Linked DNA regions of Homo sapiens: regions 2 and 3 are each linked to region 1. Evidence: promoter capture Hi-C in 16 types of primary human blood cells and fetal thymus (Javierre and others, 2016). All regions are on one chromosome and are shown on one strand. Each heading gives the region's core, a stretch centred on a gene start or on the middle of the fragment in contact. The rest is flanking DNA. Distances are from core to core; before and after follow the strand shown.

Region 1 (2,849 bases), core at 218-2,717:
CAACACTGAAATGTTTAATAGTCATTATTTTCGGGTCGTAAAATTCACTGTTCTTCAATGAATACTTGTAGAGCACATATTATATGCAGTAGTTTTGATAGGTTCTAGGGGTATAGTGGAAAACATACCAGGTATACGCTGCTCTTAGCTTATTTTCCAGTGGGAAAGATAGACAATAAGCAAGTGAACAAATGCAAATAAATTACTCTAGATTGTTATAAGTGAAATTAAGTACCAATCCTTTAGATATGGTACACAGAGAAGGATCTCTGACAGACCCCAACATTGACACTGAAGCTGAAAGGCATAAAAGAACCAGAGACCTGGGGAGGGGCCGGTGGGCAGAAGGAGAGCAGGTGCCAAGCCCCCAGGTGGAGAGCTCTGGGCTCATCTCAGGAACCGAAGGCCCTCAGTGAGGTAAGAATATACCTCTCAGGGAGAGATTGACATGAATTGGGGCCCCAGAAGAAGGCAGAAGCCAGGTACCCAGGGTCTTTTAAACCACGGCAGTGAGTTTGAATGTTATTTCAAGTGTGCTGGTGCACTGTTGGCACGGGGGAGAGATGTGCTCAAATCCCCACTCTGAAAGATTTCTTAAGCTATTTCTAGAGTATGATTTACAACAGGAAATGGATGATTTGATTCTGATCTTTATACCTTCATGCATTTAAAAAAGTACTTAAGAAAGTAGTTTGGTTTGTCATTATAAAAAGCAATACTTATTTTTATATTGTGTAGATTCAATCTTGTTTCCTTGCCTAGAGTGGGCCGTGCTTTGGAGTTCTTATGAGCATGGCATTCCTGAGAACTTCTCTAACTGCAGCCTCGGGCATAGAGGCTGGGCAGCAAGTGGCAGCAGCAGAGGACTCCTAGAAGCCTTCTACTTGACTCTACTTGGCCTAAAGTCAAACTCCCTCCACCAAAGACAGAGTTTATTTCCACATAGGATGGAGTTAAAAAATATATTCTGAGAGAGGAAGGGCTTGTGGCCCAAGAGAACACCCCAGAAATACCACCCCTTCATGGGAAGTGACTCTATCTTCAAACATATAACCCAGCCTGGACATCCCCGAAAGACACATAACTTTCCATTTCATGCCCTTGAAAGTGAATCTTTTGGCCTAATAATGAGAACAAACTCATTTTGAAAGTGGAAAAATTGAGATTCAGAGCAGAAGTTTGACTAAGGTCACAAAACAGTAGGATGCCTCACTCAGCTCCCTGTGCCTAGGTCAGAAAAGCATCACAGGAATAGTTGAGCTACCAGAATCCTCTGGCCAGGCAGGAGCTGTGTGTCCCTGGGAAATGGGGCCCTAAAGGGTTTGCTGCTTAAGATGCCTGTGGTGAGTCAGGAAGGGGTTAGAGGAAGTTGACCAACTAGAGTGGTGAAACCTGTCCATCACCTTCAACCTGGAGGGAGGCCAGGCTGCAGAATGATATAAAGAGTGCCCTGACTCCTGCTCAGCTCAGCACTCCACCAAAGCCTCTGCCTCAGCCTTACTGTGAGTCTGGTAAGTGTCGGATGGTAGAACCAGGGTTGGGACTCGGGACCTCCAACAGCATACGATGTGGTGGGGGTGGGCAGCCTGGGTGGGGGTGGGCATTACTCTGGGGCTGGATTCAGCTGGACTTTCATTCTAGGGGGACTCGAGTCAGAGTACTGAGAGAAAAGTGCCTTGGCACAGAAGTGCAGAACAGAGAGTAATCATCCTATGTCCCATCTTTTCTTGTGACCATATTTTTGGATTTGTGTGTGAGAGAGAATTATGGAAGGGAGGAGGGGAATAGCATTCAACTTCTTTCCTAAACCTCTTGGGTTTTGACAGACCATCATTTTGCCTTCTTTATGGAGGGAGAGGTTCAGGGAAGAGCTTCTACCTTTTGGCTATGCTGCACAGAGGGATGGCAGAATGGGGAAACCTTTCTATTTGGAGAAACCTAGGCAGAGCTGGGACAGGAAAACTCAACTTAGAAGTATAAGACTTGGAAGAACAACCTCCAACTCTCAGCAACCTTCCAGCTCCCGCAGCCCCACCCCAGACACAAGGACTGCAGCTAAACCTCAGAAGGTCAGGAGAGAAAGCAGCCCTGGGGTTGAATAGGCCAACCTGCTGGCTTTACAGGGGGGAAAACCAAATCCCAGGAGACTAAGTGACATGCCCAGAAACACACAGCATTCCAATGGGAGATTCAGGCCTAGAGCATGTCCTGTGGCTCCAGTCTGGAGGTCACACCATGACCTCTTAGGTCCTCTCTGGCACGGCCTATTGGTTTTCTAGGACTTGGTGTTCTCCAAGAGACATTTCATTCCCTAAGGCCTTACTCCTCACTGTGACATAATCCCAGAACGCATCTCTGCTCCTTGGTCAGTGAAGCGATGAGGGTGGACACAAGGACTAGACAAGAGCAGACAGTGAGCTGGCACCTGACCCACCCTTGCAGAACAGCCCTGCAGACAGATCTCCTTGTTGGCTCTCACCTGGGAACAAGGAGGCTCCTAGGAGGACCTTTCTCTGCCCCTCCACATTTCCACCCTTCTCTCTCTGCTGCTTTTGGGAAATGATAGTCCAGAGGTGGTAGAACAGTACCCTGCCCAAGGGAAGAGGGGATGCTAAAAAACCAGATACTTCTGCAGATTCCCAAGGTTTCATCTATTTCCTTTGCCTTCAGCCTGTGCATCAGACCTCTTCTGTCTTTCAGGTTGACAGTAGCTTCTAAGATGTCCCAGCAACACACACTGCCAGTGACCCTCTCCCCTGCCCTCAGTCAGGAGCTCCTCAAGACTGTTCCTCCTCCAGTCAATACCCATCAGGAGCAAATGAAACAGCCAACTCCACTGCCTCCCCCAT
Region 2 (2,849 bases), core at 157-2,656, 55 kb before region 1:
GTGGATTAAGTAAGGTGACTTCTGTGAACCTCCAACTCTTGTTTCTAAAATGAAGGCCTATAACCAAGCCCACTGAAATATTTTATTTGTAATTAACTCAATCATTCAATGAACCCCTAGTAAGTACCAGCTATATGTAAAGAACTGCTTTATTTAGGTATTATAGTGATTACCTCTTTATGATCTGATCTTATGCATTTTTTGGAGAAAAATTTCTTTTTTTTATTATACTTTAAGTTCTAGGGTACATGTGTACAACGTGCAGGTTTGTTACATATGTATACATGTGCCATGTTGGTGTGCTGCACCCATTAACTCGTCATTTACATTAGGTATACCTCCTAATGCTATCCCTCCCCACTCCCCCAACCCCATGACAGGCCCCAGTGTGTGGTGTTCCCCACCCTGTGTCCAAGTGTTCTCATAGTTCAACTCCCACCTATGAGTGAGAACATGCGGTGTTTGGTTTTCTGTTCTTGTGATAGTTTGCTCAGAATGATGGTTTCCAGCTTCATCCATGTCCCCACAAAGGACATGGACTCATCCTTTTTTATGGCTGCATAGTTTTCCATGGTGTATATGTACCACATTTTCTTAATCCAGTCTATTATTGATGGACATTTGGGTTGGTTCCAAGTCCTTGCTATTGTGAATAGTGCCGCAATAAACATACGTGTGCATGTGTCTTTACAGCAGCATGACTTATAATCCTTTGGGTATATACCCAGTAATGGGATGGCTGGGTCAAATGGTATTTCTAGTTCTAGATCCTTGAGGAATTGCCACACGGTCTTCCACAATGGTTGAACTAGTTTACAGTCTCACCAACTGTGTAAAAGTGTTCCTATTTTATTGGAGAAAAATTTCTAACAAAGATAACAATGTGGAAAGAAATGGACTGCCTTGTGAGGTAATGAGTTCTCCAACTAAAAGCATTTTCATTTAGGCCAGGAAGCTCACCACTAGGCATGTGGGTGAGGAGATACAAGCTCCTGGTGGAAAACCACACTACATTCTTTCTAAGGCCTCTGCAAGGCTAAATAAGTTTGTGAGTTTACTATGCTTCCTGCATCTTTCAATTTCCTAGGAAGATCCCTAGAGGAGCTCAGAGGAAGGTGGTAGGACTGTGAAAATGTTGTTACCAGAATGTTTCATGGGCTGGCTATAGTTCTACGGTTCTACCAGAACATGCCAGGACAGTGGCTACCAAACTAGGTAGAATAACCTGGGAAATAGTTAACCAATGTAAATCATAAAGACCCACTCCTTGGAGATTATGATTCAGTAGGTCTTAGTTAGAGACCAGGTGTCTGCTTCTTTTATTTTTTATTCATTTATTTTATTATTATTATTATTATTATTTTGACAGAATCTCGCTTTGTCACCAGGCGGCTGGAGTGCAGTGGCACTATCTCGGCTCACTTCAATCTCCACCTCCTGGGTTCAAGCCATTCTCCTGCCTCAGCCTCCCGAGTAGCTGGGATTACAGGCGCGTACCACCACACCCAGCTAATTTTTGTATTTTTAGTAGTGATGGGGTTTCTCCATGTTGGCCAGGATAGTTTCAATCTCCTGACCTTGTGATTTCCCTGCCTTGGCCAACCAAAGTGTTTGGATTACAGGCGTGAGACACCACACCTGGCCGGGATCTGCATTTTAAAAGTACTTCCAAGATGGCTCATGTTCCCAACCAGGTTTGCAATTCTTGATCTACAACAGCACTGAGAGTCCAGGACAGCTTCCTTGCTTTGCGCAGTTCTTTGCCGGGCTTGCCTTATTGCTCTGCACCCTTACAGACTGTGTGATATGCACTTACTTTTAACTGTCCAGTATTCAGTTTTTCTAGATGCAATAATAACAAACTCTCAAGGTTGTTAAGAAGAGAAAATAAAGCATGTGAAATGCAATACAATGCATTACAAAGCATGTGAAATGTAATACAACGTATTACAAAGCATGTGAAATGCAATGCATGGAGGGATGTGAGGGGCTTCCCTTGTGTGACCACCATCACTAAAAGAATGAATGGTTTAGAACTACAGGCTCACAGAGTGATGGAACACGGGGTCTTGGTGTCACAGGTGAAGGTGTGGGCTCCAGAAAGATTGAGCAACTTGCCTAATGCTTCTTAATGTGTCCCCCCATGCCCTTAAGAGTTTTGTAGTGGCTTTCCTAGGTAAAAACACTACTGAAAACAGGCTTTGAGGTGAAGGGTGGTGATAAGAGGGATTCATCTTCCCTACCTTTCTCTTAAGATGTGTTAATTGCAGGATGAGAGATACAGTCCAGCTGGGTTATCTCCTTTAGGCACAGTGGAGAAAATGATGGAGAGATCAAAGGCATGGAGTTGTGATGAGCCAGAGATATCATCAGAACAACTGTTTCCAAGAATAGGAGGGCGGTGGAGCCAAAGATCTGTTCTGCTCACCTTAGTTGGTAGAATTCATCTTTAACATCAGCAAAAAGACATGAAGTTTCACAGGAGTCAGAAAGCTCTGTCATTGTAGGCAGTGGAGTCTCCTTTCTTAGAAGATTCAGAAACATATTCTTGGGATTTTAGAAATATATTCTTATTTAAAAATATATTCTTGGGTCTGGAGGAAAATGATAGGCAAGATGATCACTCTTCATCCCTTCCTATTTTAGGATTAACAGGCATCACTTGATGGTGACATGTGTAAATACAGGCTCCTGATAAGGTGTTTTAGCTATTGCTCCATTCACCAAAGTCAACCAAGAAGCCAGGGCAGGGCCTAGGATCCAAAGAGGGCATCGTTCCATGTGTTACATAGGAGAAGGATTGGCGAAGCTATCGGAGACAATAAATCAGGGAGTCACCCAGGCTCTAA
Region 3 (2,849 bases), core at 157-2,656, 46 kb after region 1:
AGTATGATTACACCCACTGACACACACTCACAGACACCCAGATGCACACACACACTCACACTGTAATTCCCACTGTTGAGCATGGCCCCAGAACATCAAATCCAGCTCTACTCCTGTGACCTAGTGACTTGTCCTCTCCCCTTTCTCCAGGCCTCTGCCACATTCCAGCAAGGATGTCTCACCATCTGGCTTGAGTGAAATTTCCACAGAACAGAGGTCTCAGGATGAAGAGTGTGATGCTGAGGGCTTCGAAGGGGGTATGCCTTCATCAGAGAAGTGCTTGTATACATATTCTCTTTATTCTGCTCCAAACAAAGAAATTCCATGGAAGATGGCATGGTAGGGTGCAGGAAAGAGAGTACCTACACATCTTGGAGTGTGACAGACCTGGGCTCAAATCTCCTCTTCCTTACTTTTGTATTAATCTTGGCCAACTTAACCTTTCTAAGCTAAAAAATGAGAATAACTTGAACTTCAAGTCCTAAATTTGAAGCTCAGAGTTTCTGACAGCAGTGGTGTTCTATCTTTCCCTCATGCCCTCCTCCACAAGCCCCAGGGAAAGGGAACCCCACTGCTAGATGCACATCCTGCTGTGTATGCCCAGGTTGTGGGGAGCAGGGGGACCCTAGCTGGTAATGGATTTCTGCAATGAAGCTTCAGCACTCGGCAGTCAGTCATCCTTTGAAGGAAGCCCTGCCTGTGGGTGCGGCCAGCTTCAGTGTGCTCCACCATCTCCTGCAGGTTTGTACGTGTGCCCTGGCAATCTGACATTCCTGGGAGAATCACAGATGCCTGGCACTGAAGACGCCCTGGGCGTGGCTTATACCCACCTATGCTGAAACTCCTCCCAGTCACTTTGGGGCTATCAGTTCGGCATGCCATGTTTAAGTGTGTTATTGTTGTCTGGGGGTCTTGTTCATACGCAGAGAACAGTCATTGTTTTACCCCAGACTCCTGACCCTTGATATTTGGTCCTCTGTCTTCTGGAATTTTTATGTCAACTCTCAGGAATTAGACTATGCAGCTTCCATCTCACTCTTAAATAAAATAAAAAGGGAACCATTTTCCCTGTCCTGGGCTCTCCAGGCAGCCCTTTGGCTCAAGTCTCCTCTGCCACCAAGGGCCGATGATGTGTGTGACATGAATGCTCATCTTCGGTGGACTTAGGAGACACTGGAGCTCTGAATTAGGAGCACTGGACAGAGTATATGAGAGCTGAGTATTGTCTTAGTTATTCTGCTGTTCTTCTGCGGGACCCAGGACAAGTCATTCCCTTTTCCCAGTGTCCTCACCTGTACATGACAATGTTGGACTTCCTGAACTATTTCTAAGCTTCTTTCAGTTCTGACTCTGTATGAGGTGACTCACGCTAATCTTTGTGTTTAATCTCTTCGCCTAATGATTCATCATCATGGAAAACCCTAAAAGAGGTAAGTCTGGGGTTGAAGGCCACCAGATGCTTCTGCATGGAGGCGTAGAGAAAGCTTAGCTAAAACATGCATCTGTATTTGAAGAGCACTCGGGCTTAGGACTAACTTTCCTCCCTCCAGGGAACCAACACATCCACCTTCCGGGGCCAGGTGTGTGTGTGTGTGTGTATGTGTGTTTAAGCAGCAATTTACTACTATAAGCAAGACACTATACTGGGATCTTAATACTTATCTTATATAATATACATTACTACCATATAAGTAAAAAATTTAATTTTGCAAATGAGGAAAGCAAGAACCAAAGAGGTTATAAACTTTGCCAGCTGAAAGAGCTGAGAGTCAAATATAGATCATTCTTGGCACAGAAAGACAAATACCACATGATCTACTTATGTGTGGGATCTAGAAAGTCAAACTCATGGAAGCAGAAAGTAGAAGGGTGGTTACCAGAGGCTGGGCATTGGGGAAGGACTGGGGAGATATTGGTCAAAGCAATATAAAATTTCAGTTTGATAGGAGGAATAAGTTCAAGAGATCTATCCTACAAGTGATGACTACAGTTAATAATGTATTATACACTTGAAAATCACTAAGAGTAGATTGTGTGTTCTCCCCACAAAAAAAAAAATCGTATGTGAAGGTACACATATATTAATTAGCTCAATTTAGCCATTCCACAATTTATGCATATTTCAAAACATTCTGTTGTACACAATAAAGATATACCACATTTGTCAATTAAAAATAAATTAAATAAAATTCCTTTAAAAATTTAAAAAGAAGAAAAAAGTCAACATTAGAGAAACTGGAAGGATATATAAAACCGCTTTGTACTATTTTGCAATTTTTCTGTAAACCTAAAATTATTCCAAAATAAAAATTTGTTAAAAATAACAAACAAATATAGATCTGTCTTTCATATAGGCCCACCCTTTTTTTTTATTATACTTTAAGTTTTAGGGTACATGTGCACATTGTGCAGGCTAGTTACATATGTATACATGTGCCGTGCTGGTGCGCTGCACCCACTAACTCGTCATCTAGCATTAGGTATATCTCCCAATGCTATCCCTCCCCCCTCCCCCCACCCCACCACAGTCCCCAGAGTGTGATATTCCCCTTCCTGTGTCCATGTGATCTCATTGTTCAATTCCCACCTATGAGTGAGAATATGCGGTGTTTGGTTTTTTGTTCTTGCGATAGTTTACTGAGAATGATGATTTCCAATTTCATCCATGTCCCTACAAAGGACATGAACTCATCATTTTTTATGGCTGCATAGTATTCCATGTTGTATATGTGCCACATTTTCTTAATCCAGTCTATCATTGTTGGACATTTGGGTTGGTTTCAAGTCTTTGCTATTGTGAATAATGCCGCAATAAACATACGTGTGCATGTGTCTTTATAGCAGCATGA

What was found. The method cuts DNA at HindIII sites, captures the fragments that hold promoters and counts their contacts. A CHiCAGO score of 5 or more calls a contact.
Region 2: a fragment that was not itself captured here is called in contact with the fragment with the promoter of IVL in region 1 in 2 of 17 cell types (naive CD8 T cells and naive CD4 T cells); the score reaches 6.4 in naive CD8 T cells.
Region 3: a contact is called between a fragment that was not itself captured here and the fragment with the promoter of IVL in region 1, in 7 of 17 cell types (naive CD8 T cells, naive CD4 T cells, total CD8 T cells and 4 more). The highest score is 7.6, in naive CD8 T cells.

Annotation. Positions count from the first base shown.
Region 1 is chr1:152,907,079-152,909,927 of GRCh38, forward strand. It overlaps IVL (involucrin), which reads left to right and starts at 1,468. Exons shown (of 2, transcript NM_005547.4): 1 at 1,468-1,511; 2 at 2,701-2,849. The coding sequence starts at 2,720. RefSeq lists promoters at 1-2,708, 569-1,508, 1,228-1,462, enhancers at 1-235, 1-150, 1,069-1,348, a cis regulatory region at 818-1,314 and silencers at 1,083-1,135, 1,508-2,708. The HindIII fragment of the contact is 6,184 bases long and covers 1-2,849 here.
Region 2 is chr1:152,852,093-152,854,941 of GRCh38, forward strand. No RefSeq gene overlaps it. Among named protein-coding and RNA genes, the nearest start is that of LCE7A, 6.5 kb to the right of the region's middle. The HindIII fragment of the contact is 6,660 bases long and covers 1-2,849 here.
Region 3 is chr1:152,953,215-152,956,063 of GRCh38, forward strand. No RefSeq gene overlaps it. Among named protein-coding and RNA genes, the nearest start is that of LINC01527, 5.4 kb to the left of the region's middle. The HindIII fragment of the contact is 152 bases long and covers 1,331-1,482 here.